Regions from separate parts of the Homo sapiens genome. Here regions 1, 3 and 4 are each linked to region 2. Evidence: promoter capture Hi-C in 16 types of primary human blood cells and fetal thymus (Javierre and others, 2016). All regions are on one chromosome and are shown on one strand. Each heading gives the region's core, a stretch centred on a gene start or on the middle of the fragment in contact. The rest is flanking DNA. Distances are from core to core; before and after follow the strand shown.

What was found. Contacts are between HindIII fragments. The CHiCAGO score rates a contact against its expected background, and 5 or more counts as called.
Region 1: a fragment that was not itself captured here is called in contact with the fragment with the promoter of MAPK8 in region 2 in 2 of 17 cell types (M0 macrophages and M1 macrophages); the score reaches 7.3 in M0 macrophages.
Region 3: a contact is called between a fragment that was not itself captured here and the fragment with the promoter of MAPK8 in region 2, in 5 of 17 cell types (erythroblasts, M1 macrophages, M2 macrophages and 2 more). The highest score is 11.2, in erythroblasts.
Region 4: a fragment that was not itself captured here is called in contact with the fragment with the promoter of MAPK8 in region 2 in 8 of 17 cell types (total CD4 T cells, naive CD4 T cells, total CD8 T cells and 5 more); the score reaches 11.5 in total CD4 T cells.

The regions. Positions count from the first base shown.
Region 1 is chr10:46,535,635-46,539,302 of GRCh38, reverse strand. It overlaps LOC124902419 (a long non-coding RNA gene), which reads right to left and starts at 2,034. Exons shown (of 2, transcript XR_007062138.1): 1 at 1-2,034. RefSeq lists an enhancer at 2,981-3,482. The HindIII fragment of the contact is 2,757 bases long and covers 298-3,054 here.
Region 2 is chr10:48,303,784-48,308,041 of GRCh38, reverse strand. MAPK8 (mitogen-activated protein kinase 8) reads right to left here and starts at 1,365. Exons shown (of 12, transcript NM_001323329.2): 1 at 1,221-1,365. RefSeq lists a silencer at 785-1,734. The HindIII fragment of the contact is 3,503 bases long and covers 1-3,152 here.
Region 3 is chr10:46,471,057-46,475,054 of GRCh38, reverse strand. No RefSeq gene overlaps it. Among named protein-coding and RNA genes, the nearest start is that of NPY4R, 7.1 kb to the right of the region's middle. The HindIII fragment of the contact is 2,742 bases long and covers 1,353-3,998 here.
Region 4 is chr10:49,541,710-49,545,673 of GRCh38, reverse strand. No RefSeq gene overlaps it. Among named protein-coding and RNA genes, the nearest start is that of ERCC6, 4.6 kb to the right of the region's middle. The HindIII fragment of the contact is 926 bases long and covers 1,563-2,488 here.

The DNA.
Region 1 (3,668 bases), core at 427-2,926, 1.8 Mb after region 2:
ATTGATGCATTACTGTTTCCTAAAGTTCATGGTTTAAAGTTTACTCTTTGTGTTGGACACTTCTCTGGATTTTGAAAATCCATGTGGTGTATCTCCCACTCCAGTAGCATACAGAATAGTTGGACCACCTAAAAATCCCCTGTGCTCCGTCCATTCACCCCTCTTACCTTCCCCAGGACTCCTGGCAACCACTGATCTTTTTACTGTCTCTATAGTTTTCCTGAATGTCACAGAGTTGGCTTCATGTAGCATGTAGCCTTTTCAGACAGGCTTCTTTCACCTAGCAATATGGATTTAAGCTTCCTCCATGTATTTTCATAGCTTGAGAACTCATTTCTTTTTAGTGCTGAAAAATGTTCTGTTGTCTGGGCATACTGCCATTTATTCATCTACCAAAGGGCATCTTGGTTGCTTTCAGGTTTTGACTATTATGAATAAAACTACTATAAATATTCATGTGCAGGTTTTGATGTGGACATATGTTTACTTCAGTTGGTTAAATACGCAGGGCAACATTGCTGTAAGACTATGTTTAGCTTCATAAGAAACTGCCAAACTATCTCTGTACAATTTCGTATTCCTACTAGCAATGAATGAGAGTTCCTTTTTCTCATATAAAAATAAATATCCTTGTATGTATAGTTTTATGTTCAGGTGTGAGTATATCTGTAGGATAAATTTTTCATCAAGTGGTACATGTAAAATATCTACCGGTATTGGCAAATTGCTCCCCAGAAAGATTGCACCAATAATACATGAAAACGCATATTTTCTCATACCCACGCCAATATTTGATTGTTAATCGAACTTTAATATTTTGGCTAATTTGATAAGTGAAGGAACAATGTCTTCCTAGTTATTGTGATTTGCAATCTGTTCCCTGTGAGTGAGGTTGTGGTCTGCCGGACTGCGTGAGTGAGAATTCCTGTTCTGGCACTCTCAAGCTGTGTGATGCTGGGAAAGTTGCTGAACCTCCCTGGACCTCAGTTTCTTCATCTATAGAATGAGGATGGTAATGGGTCTTTACCTTATTAATTGGATTGGAGGATTTAATGGCATCATTCATGTAAAGTGCCAGCACAGTTCCTGGCTCAAAATAAGGGCCAAGTAAATGTAAGCTATTATTATTCTCCAATATGTTCATAAGCACTTGAATTTCTTCATTTCTGATCTGCCTATGTTCATATCAATTTCCCAGGATTTTTTCTTATTGATTGGTTAGAGCTCTTTGTATATTAATAACATACGTTTATTTTTTTCATATAAGTTACAAGTATTTTTTTATTCCAGTGTTTCATTTGTCTCCTGTTTATCAGATCCTGGCTCCAAACCAGTGCAACATCCTTCTCAGGGACACAGCATTTTAAATCTTACAAAGCCCCTCATTTCCCATCTGTCATTTATGTCTCAGGACATCCACATGAGGCAAGCTGATGTATTTTTCAGTAAAGAAGGAGACTTTATTGACCAGGCAGGGCGAGTGACTTGCCTAAGGGCACAGAAGGAATTAGTGGTTTGTACAGACTGAAATGGAGGGTCCTGGCCCCTAGGTACCACCTCCTCCACTCTTAAAGAAGGGGAGAGGGAATCTGGAGGTGCAGGAAGGAAAAGGTCAAGGTCATCATGACAGACAGCCTCACCCCATCCCCTCTCAGAACCCAAGAGCCTGGGTCCTTTTTTTTCTGTTAAGTTCTGACCATTCTCTCCTGATAAATCAAGGGAAGAATGCGAGTAAAGGGTATGTGTTACTCGGGCGAGACTCCCTGCTTGGAAGGTCTAGGAGGGGAGGTATGTGTGTGAGTGTGTGTGTGTGTGTGTGTGTGTGTGTGTGCATTCTTTCTGTCAAGTTGCCCAGCAGGTGAGCTGAAAGCTGGCTCTCTTAACTTGGGGATGAGCAATAGAGTCAGGTCTCGGTTCGTCATTTTCCAATTTCATCAGCTTTGAAAATATTTTAATAATAAAATCCAAGCATTTGATTTTCCTGACTAGTTGTTTATTCTGATTTATTGGCTATGCATGGTGCCTGAAGCTCCTCCAAACTCCCAAGGGTATCCCTGCATGTCTCAGGATGTCTCTTAACCCAGTGCCATGTGAGGGACAGAACCTAGACCAGGCATTCAGAGCCAGGTACCATTGTGCCTACCCTACTCACTGCTAGATGATGCTAGTGAGGTGCTCACACCTCTCTGGGCTTAGTCCCTCCATTGTAAGGCAAATGGGAGGCCTGCTGCCTCTGCCTTGCTGGGTTGTTGGTATGGCTGAAATGAGGGGATGAAGGTGATGTGGAAAACTTGATAGGAGAGTGGCTGCCGTGTGTCCATTCTGGTCTCCTTTGTCTCATGTCAAGCCCAGGGACTGGTTCTTTTTCTCTCTTCGGGTCTGTGACTTCTGGGAATCCTGCTTGCCTCGGTGCCCCCTGGTGAGGTGGTGCCATATAGGTTGCTTTAGCACATCACCGAGAGGGACTCTCCAAACCCTATGCTAAGTGTTCACCGCCAGAACACTTGCATTTGGGCCAGACCGGGCTAGGGTACCTAACCATAGCTTCCTGGGTTCATTTCACAGGGTGGACAGCAACTGAGAGATGTCCAGGGAAATTTCCCTTTTTAAGAGATAGGGGTTCTGGGGCCCATAAGGGCAGGAAGTATCCCCAACCACAGGCAAGTTCATGAAGCCCATAGGGAGTAGGATGGAGCCAGTTGCCAGGAGCAGGGAAAGGTTCATGTCTTTGCTCCTCCATGTACCCAGGGACTCAGCACCACCTGCAAGTTGATGGAAAGGCAGAATCTCAGCACACTCTGAGCCCCCGAATCAGAGTCTGCATTTTAACAGAACCCCTAGGTGAGGCAGAAGCCCACTACTCCAGTATCATTCATTCATTCACTCACCTAGCAAACATGCCTGAGGCCGACTCTGTGCCGTGCCCTGTGCTGACGAAGACCGGCCAAAAGACCTTGTTCTGGTCTTCCTGAAGCTCAGGTGGAGCAGACACCCCAACGGCCAACAAATGTGAAGATTGAGAACTGTGATGGGAGCCTGAGGTGGGAGCAGCTAAGCTTCCCTGGGGAATTGGGGGTCAGGGAAGTAGTCCCAAGAGGCTGAGTACCTCCTGTGTGGCAGGGGCAGGGTGGCCTTTGCTCCCTAGTATCTTTTTTTTTTTTGAGATGGAGTCTCACTCTGTTGCCCAGGCTGGAGTGTAGTGGCGCTACCTTGGCTCACTGCAACCTCCGCCTCCCAGGTTCAAGTGATTATTCTGCCTCAGCCTCCCAAGTAGCTGAGATTACAGGTGCCCGCCACCATGCGTGGCTAATTTTTGTATTTTTGCTAGAGACGGAGTTTCGCCACATTGGCCAGGCTGGTCTTGAACTCCTAACCTCAGGTGATCCACCCACCTTGTCCTCCCAAAGTGTTGGGATTACAGGCTTGAGTGACTGCGCCCGGCCTGTGCTCCAGTATCAAAACCTGCAAGCACCTACAGAGTGGAGGGTGCTATGGTCAGGGTGGTGCTCAGGTCCAGACTGATGGAGGAACCTGAGCAGGGGCGGGGAGGCATTTCAGGAAGAGGGAGCAGTTGCTCCTGCACAATTTTGTTGCATCGGGCCAAGCAGGAAGGCTGGAGAGGTGAGGAAGAGCCCCGGGGGAAAGCATGGACCATCAGGGAAAAGTCA
Region 2 (4,258 bases), core at 116-2,615:
ATCTAATTCTACTTCCTATTACACTTGAACTTCCAGATATACTGCTTAAAAAATGACCCAGAATATAACCATACCTTCCTTAACAGACATCACTTATGTAACTGTCTCATTTAAAGGTCCATCTATTATACTTCAGTCAAAGCATCCTCTTCCATGAAAGGATACTTTACCTTCACACCAAACCTCTTCATCTGAGTACGGTACTAAACAGCTGCTGAATGAATGAATGAATGAAAAAACAGATGTTCTAATTGCCAAGGAGGTACTTGCTGGATGCTTATCTCAAAACACAATGGACTGACGGACCAGAATTCTACTGGAAAGATCGCTGGATTTCAGAGGTAAAAATAGTAATCACTGGACAATGCCATGTAGTCAACATGTTATTAAATTCGCAGTAAAGACCAAGCAGGGAACTTTCAGAAATAAAAACGGAAAGTGTTCATCAGGGTACTTTAAAATGGACTTGGTTCTACCATCTCTGAATCGGGAACACAAATGCGAGACAAAGAGATGGGAGGGTGGGGTGAAAAAGTCAAAAGGTCACCACCGATGACCCTCAAGAGAAATGCGCGCTGACCACCGAAGCTCGGGCCAAGCTGGATGGACACCTCCCACCCGAGCCACGGGCCTGGGCTCTCTGCCCTGCAGCCCAGAGCTGCAGGCCACTCTGGCCCTTTTCAGCGCTGCTGCCTGCGTTCGCCCAGAACGTTAGCACAAAGAAAGCATCGAGAAGCAAAATACGGTCCCTATGGGCGCGGGGCAGGCTTGGGGACCTGCCGGCAGAAGCGCTCTCCCCGGCTCCCCGCCGCCCCGGAGGCAGCCAGGGCGCGGCGGGCCGCAAAGACACCTCCGTCCGACCCTTGCCGAAGTGTTTCAGAACTTGCCACCCACCCCCCCGCTCCATTTTCTTCTCCCGCCGCGGAGGCAGGACCCACGCGAAGAGGACGCGAGAGGACAGGCGGGCGGGGCTCGCGGCGGCAGGCGGGCTGGCGGGCAGCGGAGCGCACCCAGGTCCCGCAGCCCCACGCCCCCTCGGCTGGCCCCCGCCTCCGCGCCGCTATTGTTCCCGCGCCGCCCCCGCCCACCGCGCGCTCCCGCCCCCACTCCCAGGAGGGGGTTACGGCTGAGGAGAAGGCGGCGGCGGCGGCAGCGGCACAATAACATAAACACGACGGGGCCGCCTGCCGTCCCGGCCCTGCGGCGTCCGCCGCACTCACCCGGCAGCGCAGCGAACGGCGACAGGGAAGCCCGCCAGCGGGGACAGGGGCCGTCCGGGGTGGTCGCCGCGGCCGTTACCCAGCGCTGCTCGCGGCTCCGCAATCCAAGCCGCGTCGTCCGGCCTCGGCCGCTCGGCTGAGTAACAGAGACGCGGGCCGTCACCGCGCACGCCCGCGCACGTCATCGCGCAGGGCCCCGCCCCCGCGCCTCCCGAGCGGCCGGCGGGGCGGGGCAGCCCCGGGGCCCGGATTGCGGGGGCGGGGCCGCCGCCCGGGGACGGCGCTACTCCAGGGGTTACGAGAGGACTTGCGGAGGTCGCTTGGAGGCGGAGCCGCGGAGAGAGCCTCCGAGGGCTGTGGGTGAGGGGCGTGGCCTGGAGCGGGAGGGGCGGGCCCTGTGGCGGCACGTGGCGGCGCGTGGCCCCAGGGGACCGCATCTGGTTGGCGGCGGTAGCCAGGTCAGAGCTTAAGCCTTCGGGCCTCGTCGGCACAGGGTTGAAGGGCAGGTGCGCTTAGGCCTAACCTGCGCAGCGAACAGGCACCCCCTTCCGGTACACACACCTGAGTGATGAAGAGCTGGTTACCTTGACCGACAATATGTTCCATTCTGAGGACACCTGTCCGGGTCCCAGAAACCTACAGAGAGATAAGTGTTCTCTTCAGCTGCCCGGGAAAAGCTGCCTCCAGTTTTTCCAAAATCCACCTCCTCCGAGATTCCTTGCAAATCCACCTCTTCCCAGATTCCTTGCATTACCTGGTTTACTTCTGAGGCCCCACAAAGCGTGTAAATGTTACAGAAGCGATAAATTGACAAGTCCTTTAAATATCCAACAACGGGTGGAAAGGCGTTTGAACTACCTACACCATTCGGTAGAATACATTTTAGCAATTTAAATGCCATGTGTTCAAGGAATTCTTAACAACATAGGAACATGTTCACAATGTATCATTAAGAGAAAGAAGCAAGAAACAAGTCATATATAGAATGGTCCCACTTAGATACTATATATACACATAGAAAAAACCTGGAAAGAAATACACCAAATTATGTTAACAATGGTTCATCATTGGACTATGGAATAAAGGGTGACTTGGTTCTCGTTTATACTTTGGGTATTTTCTCATGTTTTCCGAGAGGAATAGTTATGTTCACAATCAGAAACAAGTAAGTTACTTTAATAATGAATATATAAATATTTGTTGAATAAATGAATGATTTCAGGTAAACTACTTTCCTATTACATGTGGGGCTGGCCTGTTTCTGGTGATTCTGAAAGGGAACATACAGATGATTATTCATTCATTCTCTTCCCATTTCCTCTCTCCCTCCCTCTCAACCTTCTTAATTTCCTTCCTGCCATCCTTTGTTCCTGCAATAATTATTTATTGCATGCCCATTCAGTGCCAGGCAATACAGTAGAGTTTACAGATTTAATCACTGTACTATGAAAGTAATAATAGTAAACGCAAAATTATCACTGTTTTATAATACAAATTGTTAAGGATACATAATACTATGAAACCAATTAATACACTAGTTAATAAGGCCAGAAAAGATTTCCCTGAGGAACTGTCACTTGAGCTGGGAATAGGTTTGACTAGACAGAGAATATTTTAGAGGTAGCTTTGCACGCAAAGGTCCTCTGATGAGATTAAGCAGGATAAGATGGAGAAATTCAGGAAAGGCCAGCTCTGCTGGAGGAGCAAGGAAGAAGGAGCTATGAGATGAAGTCAGGAAGATTGGTAAAGGGACCAAACGTAGGACATCCATATTGGCCATGTTGAAAATCTTTTTATCCTAAGTGCAATGGGAAGCCCCTGACATATTCAGCAAAGGGTGTGGCATGGTCAGAATAGCTTCTTGAAAAGATTCCTTATTGGAAAGAGCCCAGGTGGATGTAGGAGTAGCCTAGACGGTAAGAGGTGGAAGCTTGATCTAGGGTGATGGTCATGGAAATAGTTGATGGACATGGAAAGATCTGTGAATTATTTAGGAGGTCCAACGGGCAGAACTTGCACATTCTCCAAGTGATGGGTTATGTGGGGCAATGAAGGAGAGGGAGTCATCAAGGAAAACTCAAAGGTTTCTGGCTTGTGGCCAAGGATGGATGTTAGTGCTGGTTTACCAAGATGGGAATCTTGGAAAAGGACCAGACTGGCATTAAAATATCATGAGAGCAGGCTGTTTGGCTGTTTGAAGGCTTTTGAGATGCCCAAAACTGATGTTAAGTTGGTGGTTGGATATACAGAGCTGAGGTTCAGCTAGTTAAGAGACGAATCATTGACAGTGAGTGATTCCTTGAAGCCTTGGGATAGATGGGTCAGCCTAGGCCTGAGGAGAGGGCCTGCAACCAGGCTTGGGGAACTTCAGTGTTAAAGGGCCACAAAGGGGAAGATGAGTCTGTGATGAGCTGCCAGGGAGATAGAAGGATAACCAGGAGAGAGGTGTTCAAGAAGAAAGGGCTGATCAATAATATTAAACATAAGAGGAGGCTTGGAATCCTGGAGTAATAGAACCAGAAGTGAATTAGAGTGGGCTGGGAAATGAATGGGAGGTGAGAAAATAAAGGTGGTGAATATGGATGAGTCGGGCAGTGAAGTAGGACACAAGCATATTTTACATCTGATGGGAAGACTGTTGAGAGGGAGAGGTTGAATACACACAAAAGAGAAGGAAGACGTGTGTTTCCAGAGAGAACGGGGTGTGATTGAGTGCACAGACAGAGGTACCACCTACTCTTCACCAGACAAATTAAAGGCCTGGAGGTAACAAAAAACAATACAACCCTTAGAGCTGTTGTGAAGTGAGGGGAGTTGCTGGGAGCAGAGCTCCAGAGTTTCACGCCCAGTTCTGTGATGCTATTGTTAATAACCGCCTCTGTCTCACTCCACAGAGTGAGCTTCTGACTTAGTATCAGTCTACCATGGTCAGCTTCTGATTATCTACAACTAGAAAGAACATTCCACATATTTACATATGTGCGTTTGTGTGTTTGTGTGTGTGTATGATTGATTTCAGAAAGCATTTTGCTATTTCT
Region 3 (3,998 bases), core at 1,474-3,973, 1.8 Mb after region 2:
CCATGCATAACACTTCTTTGAACTCCTTCAGCCTGAGCCCCAGATGGAATATCAGTGGAGAAGTTTAAATCTCAGTGAGGAGCCAAGTCCAGTTGGACTCATAGCTTGAAACAGAGCTGCCCCATTGAGCTCGCCTAGGTCAGCTAGCCCCAGCTGACCTGCAGTCATGTCAATTGTATGTCACTAAGATTTTGTGGCTCTTTTTTACTCAGCTTTAGCTAACTAATATATCACCATATCAGGGAATTTTGGTAGGACAACATAGCTAAGCACAATTTGAGATGGGGAATAGAATAGGGTAAATTCTCTGTTCAAAGCATATGGTAATCTGGTGCCTATTTTACTTATTATCCCATTTGTGCCCTTTTTTATAACATGTCTTTGGAAGCGAAACTGTACATCCAGTGTCTCTGTAACACTGAGTCTATTGTCCATGTAACATTCAGTCTACTGAACTGCTTTAAAATATTAGTTGAATGACAGTAGACTGAATGAATCTCTGTAGTTCCAGAAGGCAGGGAGAAGGATTGGGAGAGTCGACACAAAGTGTGCAGCCAGGGCTGCGTTGGTATTTTTCCTCTGATGTGCTCCACAGAAGGGCAGCTGACCCACTGTGGGTTGATAATTTCACTGGTTCACAGAAGACAGGGAATATAGGACTTTAGGGAAATAATGTGCCTTTGTCTTTGTCTTTCTCTTATTCTCTATCAAGGGGGAAAATGCTGCTCTGGGCTGGTTGGATTCAAGCTCATGGATTGGACCATGGGATAAAGTTTTAGTGGCAGATGGCTACTTCCTTGAAATAGAGTGGAGAAAAAGGGTGGCAGCATTGGTGAGAAGGGACAGGCAGGAGGCAGTAGGGAAGTCCAGCTTTACTCTGGAGAGAAGAAGAGGTGGGGGTGGGGAGGGCAGGGCCAGCTGTTTGGGGTGGGAGGCAGGGAAGGTGTTGGCTGCCCAGTTGACATCTCTTATCTCTTTCCTGGGGCCAGAGTAGGTTATTTTACAGCCCAGCCTCTTTATGGCCTCAGCAGAGAAGCAAAGGCAAACAAAGAACAGGTGATCCCTCAGGGCCCAAGGAGACGCCTCCTACAGCAGGTGTGCCCACTTCAGCAGCCCTGCTGGCCAGAATCTCTACTTAGAAGGCTTCTGGGAAGGCCAGGCCCTTATCGGCTTCCGACTTTGAAGTCCTAGGAACCCTCCCTCACACCTCCCTTCTATGTGGCTTTGAAAATACTTTGATATTCTATCCCTATCCCTTAATTATTTGAACCCTCACCAGTTTGTAATGAGCCTGAACCCATCTTTGCTCCATTTTACATATGACAAAACTGAGGCTGGAAGCGTTGTTGCCAAGCTTCTTTGCCCTTTGTACCATGGGATTTAATTACATATATTTTATGGATTCTTTCCTTTATAAAGTTGTAATCATTCATTCTTTTTTAATAGAGAGAAATTTAGAAAAGGAAACAAAGCAAAAAATGACCTAAAATCCTATGGGTCAGATAACTCCCGTTGATATTCTTTCCTTCTTTCCCCCAGTTCTATTTCCAGAGGTTACCACTTTCAATTTTTATTTCTGTTTCATTCTATAAAGATGAAGAAAATTTTTGACACCTTTAAAAATATAATTTAAATCATCTTAAACTTATAGAAAAGTTGAAAGTGAGGATAAAGAACATTAATTTTTCTATGCCATTTGAAAGCATGATCCCGGCAATTTGCATGAACACCTTGCTACCGCCTCATCTGCAGGCTCCACTAAAGTTTCATCAGCTGTCCCAAGATACACAGGTTTCATTCTCCTGTCTCTGGTCTCCTTCAATCTGGAATGGTTCTCCCTTCTTTCCTTGACTTCCATGGCCTTATGTTTCCAGATGACAGGCCAGTTATTCTGTAGTATGTCCCTCACCTGGGTTGAGGCTGATGCTTCTTCAGGGTTGGATTCACTTGCATGCACCTTCAGCAGGAAGATCACAGAAGCTGTGCTGCGTTTTCCTTGCATCCTGTCATGCGGTGAGTAATTTCACTCTAGGATTAGAGATGGTGTTCGCTATGATCATTTGATTACAGAGGTGACTGCCAGCCTTCTCCACTGTAAGGTGACTCTTCTCTTTGTAATAAACAAATATTTTGTGATGAGGCACACTGAAACCATGAATATATTCCATTCCTCATCAAACTGTCACTTTACTCCATCATTTAGTTATATTGAAATGGACTCAGATTTTTATTTTATTCAGTAGGTTATTATCCATCATCATTATTATTTACTTTGATGCTCACATGGTCGAAGATTTGGCCATCAAGGGCCCCTTCAAGCCAGGTTCTGGGCTTTTCTGGCCTGCACCCTTCATTCTTAGAGTACTTCATTACTTTCTAGCTCCCAAGATCTTTCAGGTTTATCTTGGGCTTTCCCAGCCCTTGCCCTGGAATCAGCCATTTTCCGAAGGAGACTTGGATTCTTTTAATGGAGAATGGCATTTAGAAGTCAATATATGGGTGCTAGGAGTGTTCATTGCTATTGGGGTATCACTGCTCCTAGACTCTCTCAGTGGACAGAGCAAGGATATATATGCACACACACTATTAGATCAATATTTATCTCTCTATATAGAAAACCATGAGCTCACTTCAATACTTTCAATTCTAATCAAAACCACAGGGCTTATTCTGGGTTTCCCTCCTTCCATATTCATGACTGCCTTCTCCATGAGTGAGAAAACTGGCTCCCAACTTTGCTCAGTTGGTCCCCCTGCATATACCCAATCTTCCATAGCAGAACTCTGCCCCTCCACTCATTCTGTGTGGCTCTGACATCCACACTTGGTTGTCCCCTTCTGCCATGTGGACTTTCATTTGACAGTACTTGGACTCTAACACCCTGTGCTAGGCCACCGTGCCCCTGCCTCCCTGCATGGCCACTCTTTGTCCTATTCTGGCTCTGACATGCCATGCCAGGCTCCCCCACGCCAGATGGGTGCCATCTGGTACATATCCCGTGTGCTTAGCTTAGACTACCCGGGCTATGATGGCTACTGTCCCACCCATGCCCATGTGCTGCATGCATCTTATGAAGGCATCTGGTTTATTCTCCCTGCTCATCAGTTCAATCAGCATGTGCTACCAGTGTAGTGCACCAGCATACCATCTGTGGATCTGTGGGATGTTCAGAAGATCAAGGTCTCTGTAGACCACACTATAACAGAAAGCTGGAAAACGAACATGATCTGGGAGAAGACACTGACTTTGTACTTCTATCCTTGCCAGGTGAAAGCAAACTTCTGCTGGTTCTTACCGATACAGATGGGGAGAAAACACAAGCTGAGTCAATAGCTACATACTAAGTGCTGAGAGTGGTTAAGTTGTTCTATGTTGCATTTAGAAAAGCAGCTAAAATTGGAGTTACTGCCTGATTAAATTTACGACGACATACAGTCATTCTCCAAGATTCAGCAACTTCCTGCACAGGCTAAAGAGCTAAAGAGGTGAGCCAAGTGGGCAGAAATGTGACAGGCCTCCCTGTCCCTGCATCTTTCATGTCTTTAATCATGGCATCGATCCCTGTAATTCCCCTAGAAATACAGTAATGCAGGTTTACTATTTGCGTAGGGAAAGAAAATCCCAGGCTCCTGGGCCTGTTCAACCATTTCTTTGACCTCATCTCTCCTTGCTTGATTTTATACCAGTTGTGCTGGAGTACCTTCTAATATGGTTTGGCTCTGTGTCCCCACCCAAATCTCATCTCTAATTGTCATCTCCACATGCCGAGGGAGGTACCTGGTGGGAGGTAATCGGATTATGGGGGCAGTTTACCTCATGCTGTTCTCATGATGGTAAGTTTCCACGAGATCTGATGGTTTAAAAGTGTTTGGGAGTCCCTAGCCTCTCTCCTGCCGCCATGTAAGATGTACCTTGCTTCCCCCTCTGCCATGGTTGTAAGTTTTCTGAGGCCTCCCCAGCCATGTGGAACTGCGAGTCAATTAAAGCTGTTTTGTTTA
Region 4 (3,964 bases), core at 776-3,275, 1.2 Mb before region 2:
GCCAGGATGGTCTTGATCTCCTGACCTTATGATCCGCCTGCCTCAGCCTCCCAAAGTGCTGGGATTACAGGCATGAGCCACCACACCCAGCTGAGAAACTCCTATAATTCTTGTATGACTTAGTGTATATTGTTAATAATTATAATTATGACAAGTCTTTGTATGCACAAAAGTAACCAAAATTCCTAGTCAATTGTGACTTTAATAGTGACTGTCCTAAGGTTTTTTGTCATCCACAGACAAGTGTTATCTTGTATTGTTCCTCTTCAAAAGGTGGTTTATAATCAACTATACGACTTTGACAGGTGCTCTTAAATGCAGGTTTCTGAATAACTTAGGAGATTGTGACATTAGAATAGAGGAAAAAACATTTAGGACTCTCATGGAGAGCTGAAATATTCATGACTATCAAGCAGAACAGGAGTCAACTGCATGGAGTAAACTAATAGAAGCCTGAAGTAATCTTTTTGACTTTTTTTCTTAAAGTGTTGCTGATCCTTTGTTTTGTTTTTCACAGTCAAGAAAACTTTTATTTACAACTTGTAGCAGCTGAGTATGCCTATAAACAAAATTTGAAGCATATTTCTCTCTACCTGATTTCTCCAGAATTTGGAAACTATTTGTGAGTATTCTTATGGCAATATAGTTATTTACATAAGTGCAGTAAGAATCTGTTTTCTTTTACAACAGGACACAGTTGGAGGAACTGATTATTTTACCAAGCCTTTGACTGGAATGGCATGCTTTCAAATATAAACAAACTGCTTCAAGGAATCAAACTTGACTTATAGAGACAATAAAAGCCCCTTGGGAAAACTGGCCTCATACCTTGTCTACACAGTCCTTGTACAGGGTTCTTGGTCTGTAATAAGTAAAGAATGCAACTTTCTGAGAGGCCCAGGAGCACCAATATCTTGGGACCTCAGGAGGAGAGGAATTTACCCAACTTACAGGTATTTGATGGCAGCAACCCATGGCTGGGCTCAGTTTTAAAAAAAGTCTTATTTAAAATTCCTTATAGAACAAAGATCCATCAAATCCAATTACAAAAAAAAAACCCATGTGAAAAATAATTATTCTTGCTGCCCTTTTTACGAAGAATCAGGCCAAGTATAAAACTAAATTTATTTAGTTGGAAGCAAATCAGTCTTACCATGATTTGTCTTTAATAAAAGTGGGAGCCTGAAGAGAGAAAAAAGTTATGTTTCAACTATGGTACACCTGTTATTAGATTCTAGTCTCATCAGTTATTTTTAAGGGTTTTTTCTTCCTTGCAATTTAGACTAACCCTACTTTTTCCTGCCAACTAACCAGTGATCTCTGGCTGCTGCTCAGAAAAAAAATAACAGAAATGGGTAATGTAAAAATCTGGATCAATATTCTAATTCTAATTGGAACATATAGCATGTACAGCAACTTCATATCAGCTTGCCCAGTTCCAGCTGTTGCCGAGTTCATGGAAAGCCTTCTAATTTAGTTTACTTGGGATAGTTTTACTTATTTTGCTTTACCGTTGTGGAACATATTGCTGTTGTACTCCGTGTGGGAGTGCAGGATAAGCTTACTCAATGTTTAATTAAATTGAATACTTTTTAATCTTCCAGATATCACCTTTTGCCCTCAAGAGTTATGAATGTCCCTCACCATAGTGATGCCTTCTGACTGAGCTCCTCACTACCCTGAATACAAGAGACCATAATAGTTAGGTAGGAGTAGCATAGCCCTTATTCAGCTTGAAGAAGTTACAGAAGATGGATCTTTGTCCCTCTACTACCCTTTGGATTAGGCGTTCCCTTGTAAAAGGGAAGGGAGAAATATGTCAGAGGCATTTGAACCAGAGTGATTCCATCTTGAATTGGGGCTGGGTGAAATAAGGCTGAGACCTACTGAGCTGTATTCCCAAGAGGGCAGGCATTCTAAGTCACAGGATGAGGTAGGAGGTTGGCACAAGATACAGGTGACAAAGACCTTGCTGATTAAACAGTTTGCGGTAAAGAAGCTGGCCAAAACCCACGAAAACCAAGATGGCAATGAAAGTGATGTCTGGTCATCCTCACTCTTCCTTATATGCTAATTATAATGCATTAGCATGCTAAGAGACACTCCTATCAGCACATGACAGCTTACAAATGCCATGGCAATATCAGAAAGTTACCCTATATGGTTTAAAAATGGGAAGAACCCTCAGTTCTGGGAATTACCCACCCCTTTCCTAGAAAACTCAGGAATAATCTACCCCTTCTTTAGCATATAATCAAGAAATAACTATAAGTATTCTCATCAAGCAGCCCAAGTTGCTGTTCTGCCTATGGAGTAGCCATTCTTTATTCCTTTACTCTCCTAATAAACTTGCTTTCACTTTACTCTATGGACTTGCCCCGAATTCTTTCTTACTCAAGGTCTAAGAACTCTCTCGGCATCTGGATCGGGAATCCTTCCTGGTAACAGTTCACAATGGATGGTTTTATACATTCATTGCTTTTAAGCTTGCTGATTCATTTATTCAACATACATTTAACATGTTTTTCTAGTGGTTGCCAACACAGTTCTAAATAATATGCTTTTGCTTCTTTTTTGATTTATAATTTTTACAAAGTATTTATTGTGTTTCCAATACATCTAATTATTTTTCATGAGTTTTCCCCATTTATAAGGATCAGAGAACCAAACCGGTTTTGTTGCACTGCCGTTACCCAGAAGTTTTGAAAAGTGAGAGTCAACTCAGACCTCTGTTCTGTAGGTCATTGGGAGAATTCCTTATATTGAACACGAAATGTGAAATAAAGGCGCAAGGATGAATATCGTCATAGTTAAACAAGTTAACATTAGTAAAGCACTCAAGACAATGAAACCACCTTTGCAAAAATTATATCAGTTAGAAAATTATGACAGTGAAAGAGGTCTGAGTTAACGCCCCCATTCCAACACCTATCTTGCCTTTCCCTTAATTATTTCTAAGCTACTGGGGCCAGCTAACTTTGAGAGACATTTAGGCTATAGTTTACATGATAACAGACCTTGCCTGAAACTCAACTGTTTTTGTAAAGCTAATGGGAAGCTATCAGGCTGTGGGGGAGGAGAGGAGCCTGAGTCCTGCTAAGGCGCAGATATGAACGATTGTCAGTCATTATTCTGGAGGTTATAAGATACTCAACTTTCCCAATTACTCCTGCAAATAACACCACTGATATGGTTTGGCTGTGTCCCCACCCAAATCTCATCCTGAATTGTAGTTTCCATAATCCCTACATGTTGTGGGAGGAAGCCGGTGGGAGATAACTGAATCGTGAGGGTGGTTACCTCCATGCTGTTCTGATAGTGAGTTCTCACGAGATCTGATGGTTTTATAAGGGGCTTTCCCCCTCCTTCACTCTGCACTTCTCCTTGCTGCCACCATGTGAAGTAGGACATGTTTGCTCCCCCTGTCACCATGATTGTAAGTTTCCAGAGGCCTCCCCAGCCATGCTTAACTGTGAGTCAATTAAACCTCTTTCCTTTATAAATTACCCAGTCTTGGGTATGTCTTTATTAGCAGCACGAGAGCAGACTAATACAACCACTATTTGTAGCTTTTTGAGATATCTTTCCAGGTTTTTTGCATGTCTGACACCCATGGCTCCACCTGGACCGCCAACCCCACTCCCACAGCCCCACCCAGAAGTGATTCAGACTGCAGGAGGACAGCTTTGACTCCCCCTATGATTTCATCTCAGCCTCAACCAATCAGCAGCAAGCACCTGTTACCTGGCCACTCCCACCCCTTCCTCCAAACTGCGTTTGAAAAACCCCCAGCCTATGAGCTTCGGACTTTGGATCAGATGACCTGAGCATGCACTCCATCTCCCACCTGGCATGGTCGGCCTCGTGTCTATTAAGCTCTTTTTCTACCACAATGCTATGGTCTTTCTTTATGCAGTGGGCAGGAAGAACCCCTTGGGTGGGGTGTTTAAAATAATGCCCAGCT